Linked DNA regions of Homo sapiens: region 2 is linked to region 1. Evidence: promoter capture Hi-C in human tissues and cell types (Jung and others, 2019). All regions are on one chromosome and are shown on one strand. Each heading gives the region's core, a stretch centred on a gene start or on the middle of the fragment in contact. The rest is flanking DNA. Distances are from core to core; before and after follow the strand shown. Region 1 holds the start of DSP (desmoplakin). Region 2 overlaps DSP (desmoplakin).

Evidence for each region. Contacts are between HindIII fragments. The study calls those that stand out against the background at their distance.
Region 2: a contact is called between a fragment that was not itself captured here and the fragment with the promoter of DSP in region 1, in 1 of the 25 tissues and cell types used here (ovary).

Annotation. Positions count from the first base shown.
Region 1 is chr6:7,537,806-7,542,920 of GRCh38, forward strand. DSP (desmoplakin) reads left to right here and starts at 3,866. Exons shown (of 24, transcript NM_004415.4): 1 at 3,866-4,280. The coding sequence starts at 4,111. DSP-AS1 (DSP antisense RNA 1) reads right to left here. Exons shown (of 2, transcript NR_183331.1): 2 at 2,646-3,248. RefSeq lists an enhancer at 1-1,854. The HindIII fragment of the contact is 11,377 bases long and covers 1-5,115 here.
Region 2 is chr6:7,581,966-7,587,273 of GRCh38, forward strand. DSP (desmoplakin) reads left to right here. Exons shown (of 24, transcript NM_004415.4): 24 at 677-4,749. The coding sequence ends at 3,913. Among named protein-coding and RNA genes, the nearest start is that of SNRNP48, 5.6 kb to the right of the region's middle. The HindIII fragment of the contact is 7,043 bases long and covers 1-5,308 here.

The DNA.
Region 1 (5,115 bases), core at 2,616-5,115:
TTCCCATGGGATTTTGAGCAAGTAAATGATTCTTCTTAATCTCACTGAAATCAAAGTGTCGTTTTCTTTTAAAAATCTGCTCTGAATATGACTGATTCGTCTTTCCTAACTGCAAGGTGATTTCTAAGGTCAGCCAGAGAGAAAGTTGCCTGTCAGTGATCTGTTTTATCAGTACAAGGGGAGCTATCTATGAGTGGCAGGGAAAAAATAGCTGACCTTAGGTCAGCCAGTGAAGACTCTGCCAGACTTTGGATTCTGATTTTTTAAACCAAGTTGTAAGAAAACAAGCTACTTTTAAACCTCTTTGCTGCGCTTTCAAAATTCTATAAATATACCTTCATTATAGCATACTTAATGTTGTATTGTAATTATTTGTTTTACTACTGCAGACTTTGATATCCTGCAGAAAAAGAGTCATGCTTTATTCATCTTCATGTGTCTAGCATTGAATCTGTTGTGTAACATGGTAGATGTTCAATAACTGCTTTCTAAATGAATGCATCTTAAATGTGTCCAAGAGGGAGGTTTACTGATTTACATGTGGGATAAAGACAGGAACATTAACGGTTAAAATTTCGCATCCAGCAAAGAACTTTTGGCTTAACAGGTGGTACCTTAAGCTTTATATGTTTCACAGTGTTCAAGAATGTTCACGTATTTTATCTCATTTGACCCTCACTGTGGATTTGGAAGGTTGGCAGAGCAAGTGTTATTTCCATTATACACATGAAGAAATTGAGCTCTTGCATAAGTAAATTGTAGCACTAAGATTATAACTATGGGCAAGTTATCCTCGCTCTTCACTGTGTGATGAGCCAACCTGGACAACTGATGTGTGTGTGTGTGTATGTGCATGTGTGTGGGTGTGTGTTGAGGTGGGGGGTGTTCCATCTGTCGGGCATGTCAATCTGTTTATTTTATCCTCTTATCTTTCTTTATCACCCTTAGAGAAAGATAAATGAAAGCCACTGTCTTCCTAGAGCAGGCATGTTTGGTAGCTGGAAGCCGTTCGTGTTCTTGGGGATGCCTGGAAAAGCCCAGGAAGCAGTAAGATGGGTGAGGAAGCAACGCAGCCAGAGGTGTGATTGGTGGCGTGGGCTCTTCGCCTCCTCCTCTGTTTTGCCTGCAGATTGAACAGTTTTGTGAGTCTGGGTGGTGTTTGGGTCTGTGTGGAGCCTGGTTCCTATGACCGTAAGGGGACCCTTGGCTAACAAGAGCTTTTGTTACCACTGGGGGGGTGGTTAATAGATATGTGGGTTTTTTTTAAAAGGATAATTCTACCGTGCAATTGTGTAGCCTCTTTATTACACATTAGGGAAGAATAATCCCTGAATTTTTTTTTTTTTTTTTTTTTTGAGACAGAGTCTTGCTCTGTTACCTGGGCTGCAGTGCAATGACACGATCTCTGCTCAATATAATCTCCACCTCCTGGATTCAAGTGATACTCGTGCCTTTGCCTCCCAAACAGCTAGGATTACAGGCGCCTGCCACCACACCCAGCTAATTTTTGTATTTTTAGTAGAGATGGGGTTTCATCATGTTGGCCAGGCTGGTCTCGAACTCCTGACCTCAAGTGATCCACCCGCCTCTGCCTCCCAAAGTGCTGGGATTACAGGCATGAGCCACCGCACGGGCCCCTGAATTTCTTAAATCAAAGTTTTACTATAATATATTTAAGGGCAGTGACTGGACCCTATTTATCTTTGTATGTTGCAGAGTATTTCCATATCCTAGGTTATAATTATTTGCTGAACAAATGAGATGCATAGAGGGAAAACATCCTAAATGAAATGTTGTACATTATGCACTGACATTTTCCCTCCATGCATGTCTTTCTCTCCTCCACCAATGGATATTATGGGCTGTTTGTGCAGAGGCTGACTTCCAGCCATTGATTCTGTTTGAGAAAAACCACCGTCTTGTCTATAGATCAGTGTTTGTACAGGTTGAGCATCCCTAATCTGAAAATCTGAAATCCAAAATGCTCCCAAATCCAAACTTTCTGAGCACTGACATGATGACCACAAGTGGCGAATTCCACACCTGACCTCATGTGATGACTTGCAGTCAAAGTGCAGTCAAAACTTTGTTTCATGCACAAAATTATCTAAAATATTGTATAAAATTACCTTCAGGCCATGTGTATAAGGCATATAGAAAACATAAATAAATTTCATGTTTAGGCTTGAGTTCCATCCCCAAAGATCTCTCGTTACGTCTATGCAACTATTGCAAAATCCAAGAAAATCCAGAATCCAAAATATTTCTGGTCCCAAGCATTTTGGATAAGGGGTACTCAATCTGTATAATCATTTAAACACTTGACCACTTTGGTTTTATTAAAGATTCGAGGAAATTGAGACTACGATGCAAATTATTGGTTGTGCTAACAGTGATAAACTTTTATCTCATTATATGTGTTTACTCCTTGAATTTAAGACGTTCAGCTGTAAAAAGAAAAAGAACAAGACATTTTGTCAAAAATTATGCCTAAAGGGTCAAGTTGTCATGAGAAGTGCTATAATACGACAAATTTTAGAAAGTCCCCCCCACTCCCTTTACAACATAAAAATGTAGTTTTTTATTTTTGTTTTCAGTTCATAAACATTTTGGAAACGCACTGTATCAGAAGGTAATTAGCGGCATTGTTTGGAAAGATGAAAAATTTATTAGAAAAGATCTTTAAATGGCTTTTACTAAAGCGTCATTTAACAATTTTTCATATTATAGAAACAGCTTTTCATGGATGGTGTGACTGGGTCTGTATCCAAACCCGGTTCGGTTCCTGGAGCCAACGGCGTAGTTAACACTCAGCCTCTTGCAGTTAACACTCAGCCTCTTAACTGGGAGTGGCCCTGGAGCAAGTCGCTGGAATGTTCAAGCTCCGCGTCACTCATCGGTACCAAGTTGATGATCTCTGCCTAGGGTTCTTCGCCACCCTCAGGCTCAAGTCCCAGGAGGCCTCCTCCGCTGACTTGGGTGAACAGCTCTGAGTTCCGGAGAGGGTTCGGTCTGCGGAGAAGCGCGCGAGAGACAAGCATCCTCAAGGTTCTGGTACAAAATTTGGAAAATGGACCTGGCGTTGAAATCTTTACTCCTCGTTTAAAAAGACCATCGAAAGGGAAAAAATAAAAGAAATTGCAGTTTATATTTTTGTTATCCCATGAAAAATTAGCTGCAGTGTTTTCCTCTTCATGCCAAAGAGATTAATATTTACGGTGAAGACTTTTCCAGGAAGTCGTGGTTTTCTGTAAAAAAAGGTTTTACACATCAGAAATCGGACTTCTGGGGCAATTTCCTGAATTCCTGGAATAAAACAAAACAAAAAAAAGCCCCCAAACAAAACTCTATCATCTAAAGCGTTCCCTCCTCACTGTGGTCCTAGTCAATGCGTGGTAGGTAGCGTTTCCAGTGATCAACAAAAGTAAATATTTGACCAGTAAGTCTCCAATCGAGAGGCCCCTCCATTCCAGCTATTTCCGCCCGGGGACCGAGGAAATCCTCAAAAGCCGGGCCACGCATTCCCAGCCCGAGAGGCCCCAGCGCAGAGCGCAGCAGCCCCCGCGAGCGCAGGTCCTCCCCGCGGTGGCTTCGCCCAGGGCGCTTGGGTCTCGGGGACCCCGCCCCCGCCCCGCCCGGTGTTACTCAGGCCTCGGTGGCGCAGGGCGGAGTCGCGGGCGGCGGGCGCAGGTGGGGAGGGGCGGCCGGAGCGCGTCGGTGACACCCGCGGGGGGGCGGGGAAGGCGCGGCGGCCGCACCCCACCCTGGGAAGAAACCGGCCAGGTGTGGCCTAGGCGCCCAGTGCCAGCGGGGAGGAGACTCGCTCCGCCGCCGACCAACACCAACACCCAGCTCCGACGCAGCTCCTCTGCGCCCTTGCCGCCCTCCGAGCCACAGCTTTCCTCCCGCTCCTGCCCCCGGCCCGTCGCCGTCTCCGCGCTCGCAGCGGCCTCGGGAGGGCCCAGGTAGCGAGCAGCGACCTCGCGAGCCTTCCGCACTCCCGCCCGGTTCCCCGGCCGTCCGCCTATCCTTGGCCCCCTCCGCTTTCTCCGCGCCGGCCCGCCTCGCTTATGCCTCGGCGCTGAGCCGCTCTCCCGATTGCCCGCCGACATGAGCTGCAACGGAGGCTCCCACCCGCGGATCAACACTCTGGGCCGCATGATCCGCGCCGAGTCTGGCCCGGACCTGCGCTACGAGGTGACCAGCGGCGGCGGGGGCACCAGCAGGATGTACTATTCTCGGCGCGGCGTGATCACCGACCAGAACTCGGACGGCTACTGGTGGGTACCTGCCCGGAGAGCGCGGGCTGCGGGGCTCGCGGGACAGGGAGGGACCGTCCTCCTCTGGACGACTGGGAGACTCGGGTCCCGAAGGTGGAAAGGTTTTTTTGCCCCAGGTCCCGAAAGAACTTCCCGGCCGCGCTGGGAGCAGGACCGGGTGTCCTGACGCGTGCGGGGACAGGTTGGCCCCTGTCCTGCGAACAGGGACTCGGTCGTACCTTTCTCCCCTCCCGCGAGCCCGGGCGGGTGGTCAGAGGGGGCGTCGGGCCCGCGCGGGGCTGTCCCCTGCCTGCTGGACACGGCTGCAGCCGCCTTTGTCCCAGCCCGCGAATGGGAGGTCAGGCGAGGTGGGGCTGCGACCACAAAACCCAACCTCTCCAACCGTAATCAAAGTAAAAGAGGAAAGGAGCGGGGCCCCGGTCCTGTCTGGTGGCCGAGTGGTGCTCGGGGCTCCGCAGTCTCTACCGGCTCACCCCCAATCCCCAGTAACCCCGAGACCACGACTGCAACGACTCCTGGACTCCTCGGCCACCCAAGGACGTTTGTATCAAGGCTGCGCGTCCCGGCGGCGCGGGGTCCTGTCCCGAGGAGGCGCTTCGGCTTCCCCTGTCCGGGAAACGAAACTTCCCCGCCGGGGCGGCTGCCGGGCCCGGGTCTCGAAGTTCGGCCGGGACGTGCCTGTTACCTTCGGTCGTCCGCGCCGCAGCCCCCGCGGGCGAGCGCACCTGGGGCCCTGCCTCTGAGCCTTTTGTTTCCTCCTTTTTAAAAACACCGGATGAAAGACCCCAGTGTGCCTTGGATCGCAGAGCGCCGGCCGCATGTCTGCTTTGATCCA
Region 2 (5,308 bases), core at 651-3,150, 42 kb after region 1:
TAAAACACTTTTTCTTTTGCCTGCTTAGATGATTTTTTTGCATGGATTATTTAGTGTTCGCTTTTGATCATGGCCCTAGTGTGTTTCCTTTTGTTTGACTTTCCTTCTCCTAACCCTTAATTTAAAAATAACTTATTTAACTTCTACAGACAATATTTGTGTGTGGCTGGGTTGGTGTGTGTGTGTGTGTGTGTGTGTGTGTATATCTATATATTATATATATAATTATATAATTACATAATATATATTTATCTATAATATATATTTTATATAATATATATCTTCATATATTTGTATTGCTTCATTAAGTATGTTCATCTAGCTGTAACAGGTGAGATGTAGGTGTAGCAGGTATGATAACCTGAAACAAAACTCCCCACATTTTTTCAAAGCATAATTATTGTTAAGAGTAAGACAGGTCTGCAACTTACAGTTCCTTCTATAGAAAAAAATAGTAAGTATGAAGCCATTTATTGAAGTGGCAACATATACAGAATTTTTCCCACAAATTTGTAAAATAACAAGCTCACAGTGTATCCAGGGACAATATAGAAAGAAAAAATAAGCAAGGCTTTTTTTTTTAAAGATAGATACACAAAAGAAAGTTAAGTCGTGATAGTAATATGATATGATTCAAAACATTATTTTTTCCCATTTCTTTCTTCTTCAATTCCAGGCATCTAATAGGATTCAGGAATCAAAGAATCAGTGTACTCAGGTGGTACAGGAAAGAGAGAGCCTTCTGGTGAAAATCAAAGTCCTGGAGCAAGACAAGGCAAGGCTGCAGAGGCTGGAGGATGAGCTGAATCGTGCAAAATCAACTCTAGAGGCAGAAACCAGGGTGAAACAGCGCCTGGAGTGTGAGAAACAGCAAATTCAGAATGACCTGAATCAGTGGAAGACTCAATATTCCCGCAAGGAGGAGGCTATTAGGAAGATAGAATCGGAAAGAGAAAAGAGTGAGAGAGAGAAGAACAGTCTTAGGAGTGAGATCGAAAGACTCCAAGCAGAGATCAAGAGAATTGAAGAGAGGTGCAGGCGTAAGCTGGAGGATTCTACCAGGGAGACACAGTCACAGTTAGAAACAGAACGCTCCCGATATCAGAGGGAGATTGATAAACTCAGACAGCGCCCATATGGGTCCCATCGAGAGACCCAGACTGAGTGTGAGTGGACCGTTGACACCTCCAAGCTGGTGTTTGATGGGCTGAGGAAGAAGGTGACAGCAATGCAGCTCTATGAGTGTCAGCTGATCGACAAAACAACCTTGGACAAACTATTGAAGGGGAAGAAGTCAGTGGAAGAAGTTGCTTCTGAAATCCAGCCATTCCTTCGGGGTGCAGGATCTATCGCTGGAGCATCTGCTTCTCCTAAGGAAAAATACTCTTTGGTAGAGGCCAAGAGAAAGAAATTAATCAGCCCAGAATCCACAGTCATGCTTCTGGAGGCCCAGGCAGCTACAGGTGGTATAATTGATCCCCATCGGAATGAGAAGCTGACTGTCGACAGTGCCATAGCTCGGGACCTCATTGACTTCGATGACCGTCAGCAGATATATGCAGCAGAAAAAGCTATCACTGGTTTTGATGATCCATTTTCAGGCAAGACAGTATCTGTTTCAGAAGCCATCAAGAAAAATTTGATTGATAGAGAAACCGGAATGCGCCTGCTGGAAGCCCAGATTGCTTCAGGGGGTGTAGTAGACCCTGTGAACAGTGTCTTTTTGCCAAAAGATGTCGCCTTGGCCCGGGGGCTGATTGATAGAGATTTGTATCGATCCCTGAATGATCCCCGAGATAGTCAGAAAAACTTTGTGGATCCAGTCACCAAAAAGAAGGTCAGTTACGTGCAGCTGAAGGAACGGTGCAGAATCGAACCACATACTGGTCTGCTCTTGCTTTCAGTACAGAAGAGAAGCATGTCCTTCCAAGGAATCAGACAACCTGTGACCGTCACTGAGCTAGTAGATTCTGGTATATTGAGACCGTCCACTGTCAATGAACTGGAATCTGGTCAGATTTCTTATGACGAGGTTGGTGAGAGAATTAAGGACTTCCTCCAGGGTTCAAGCTGCATAGCAGGCATATACAATGAGACCACAAAACAGAAGCTTGGCATTTATGAGGCCATGAAAATTGGCTTAGTCCGACCTGGTACTGCTCTGGAGTTGCTGGAAGCCCAAGCAGCTACTGGCTTTATAGTGGATCCTGTTAGCAACTTGAGGTTACCAGTGGAGGAAGCCTACAAGAGAGGTCTGGTGGGCATTGAGTTCAAAGAGAAGCTCCTGTCTGCAGAACGAGCTGTCACTGGGTATAATGATCCTGAAACAGGAAACATCATCTCTTTGTTCCAAGCCATGAATAAGGAACTCATCGAAAAGGGCCACGGTATTCGCTTATTAGAAGCACAGATCGCAACCGGGGGGATCATTGACCCAAAGGAGAGCCATCGTTTACCAGTTGACATAGCATATAAGAGGGGCTATTTCAATGAGGAACTCAGTGAGATTCTCTCAGATCCAAGTGATGATACCAAAGGATTTTTTGACCCCAACACTGAAGAAAATCTTACCTATCTGCAACTAAAAGAAAGATGCATTAAGGATGAGGAAACAGGGCTCTGTCTTCTGCCTCTGAAAGAAAAGAAGAAACAGGTGCAGACATCACAAAAGAATACCCTCAGGAAGCGTAGAGTGGTCATAGTTGACCCAGAAACCAATAAAGAAATGTCTGTTCAGGAGGCCTACAAGAAGGGCCTAATTGATTATGAAACCTTCAAAGAACTGTGTGAGCAGGAATGTGAATGGGAAGAAATAACCATCACGGGATCAGATGGCTCCACCAGGGTGGTCCTGGTAGATAGAAAGACAGGCAGTCAGTATGATATTCAAGATGCTATTGACAAGGGCCTTGTTGACAGGAAGTTCTTTGATCAGTACCGATCCGGCAGCCTCAGCCTCACTCAATTTGCTGACATGATCTCCTTGAAAAATGGTGTCGGCACCAGCAGCAGCATGGGCAGTGGTGTCAGCGATGATGTTTTTAGCAGCTCCCGACATGAATCAGTAAGTAAGATTTCCACCATATCCAGCGTCAGGAATTTAACCATAAGGAGCAGCTCTTTTTCAGACACCCTGGAAGAATCGAGCCCCATTGCAGCCATCTTTGACACAGAAAACCTGGAGAAAATCTCCATTACAGAAGGTATAGAGCGGGGCATCGTTGACAGCATCACGGGTCAGAGGCTTCTGGAGGCTCAGGCCTGCACAGGTGGCATCATCCACCCAACCACGGGCCAGAAGCTGTCACTTCAGGACGCAGTCTCCCAGGGTGTGATTGACCAAGACATGGCCACCAGGCTGAAGCCTGCTCAGAAAGCCTTCATAGGCTTCGAGGGTGTGAAGGGAAAGAAGAAGATGTCAGCAGCAGAGGCAGTGAAAGAAAAATGGCTCCCGTATGAGGCTGGCCAGCGCTTCCTGGAGTTCCAGTACCTCACGGGAGGTCTTGTTGACCCGGAAGTGCATGGGAGGATAAGCACCGAAGAAGCCATCCGGAAGGGGTTCATAGATGGCCGCGCCGCACAGAGGCTGCAAGACACCAGCAGCTATGCCAAAATCCTGACCTGCCCCAAAACCAAATTAAAAATATCCTATAAGGATGCCATAAATCGCTCCATGGTAGAAGATATCACTGGGCTGCGCCTTCTGGAAGCCGCCTCCGTGTCGTCCAAGGGCTTACCCAGCCCTTACAACATGTCTTCGGCTCCGGGGTCCCGCTCCGGCTCCCGCTCGGGATCTCGCTCCGGATCTCGCTCCGGGTCCCGCAGTGGGTCCCGGAGAGGAAGCTTTGACGCCACAGGGAATTCTTCCTACTCTTATTCCTACTCATTTAGCAGTAGTTCTATTGGGCACTAGTAGTCAGTTGGGAGTGGTTGCTATACCTTGACTTCATTTATATGAATTTCCACTTTATTAAATAATAGAAAAGAAAATCCCGGTGCTTGCAGTAGAGTGATAGGACATTCTATGCTTACAGAAAATATAGCCATGATTGAAATCAAATAGTAAAGGCTGTTCTGGCTTTTTATCTTCTTAGCTCATCTTAAATAAGCAGTACACTTGGATGCAGTGCGTCTGAAGTGCTAATCAGTTGTAACAATAGCACAAATCGAACTTAGGATTTGTTTCTTCTCTTCTGTGTTTCGATTTTTGATCAATTCTTTAATTTTGGAAGCCTATAATACAGTTTTCTATTCTTGGAGATAAAAATTAAATGGATCACTGATATTTTAGTCATTCTGCTTCTCATCTAAATATTTCCATATTCTGTATTAGGAGAAAATTACCCTCCCAGCACCAGCCCCCCTCTCAAACCCCCAACCCAAAACCAAGCATTTTGGAATGAGTCTCCTTTAGTTTCAGAGTGTGGATTGTATAACCCATATACTCTTCGATGTACTTGTTTGGTTTGGTATTAATTTGACTGTGCATGACAGCGGCAATCTTTTCTTTGGTCAAAGTTTTCTGTTTATTTTGCTTGTCATATTCGATGTACTTTAAGGTGTCTTTATGAAGTTTGCTATTCTGGCAATAAACTTTTAGACTTTTGAAGTGTTTGTGTTTTAATTTAATATGTTTATAAGCATGTATAAACATTTAGCATATTTTTATCATAGGTCTAAAAATATTTGTTTACTAAATACCTGTGAAGAAATACCATTAAAAAACTATTTGGTTCTGAATTCTTACTAGAAGGTGGTCTTTTGAAGTTAGTCCTTTCGGTACTTCTCAGATGCCTGTCATGTACCCGATGGAGTCCTTGGAAAGAAGGCCTGTGTAAAGAGGCCAGCCTGGAGGTCAATAACCTGTTCTAGTTTATTCTGGACATTGAGTACCAAGTAGCATTGGCAAAAGTCATCATCATAGCATTGAAAAAACATGAAGTTGCTAAGATGCTTTTTGGGTATCCTCAAAATAGATAGTGTTTCACTTTGTCCCGTAAGAGGAAAGAATTGTCCTGGAACCCATGAAAATGATTTCTGAAGAGTTCTTGGCTCTCTGTTGAAGGACAAGGAAGTATAAGCCTATTCCTTTGGATCAAAGAGAAACTACTGAAATTCACACATTTGTCATTAGATTAACATGACTTCACTGAATACCCACCATGTCTAGTATTGGGTTAGGTACTATGAAGACTGAGTAGAATTTACAAGCCCCCGACAACAAAGCATTGGCAATATGGGTGGGGACAGAAACAGATAAAGCAATCAGTGGGACAACTTTCAAATGTCAGCAGTATATATTAATACA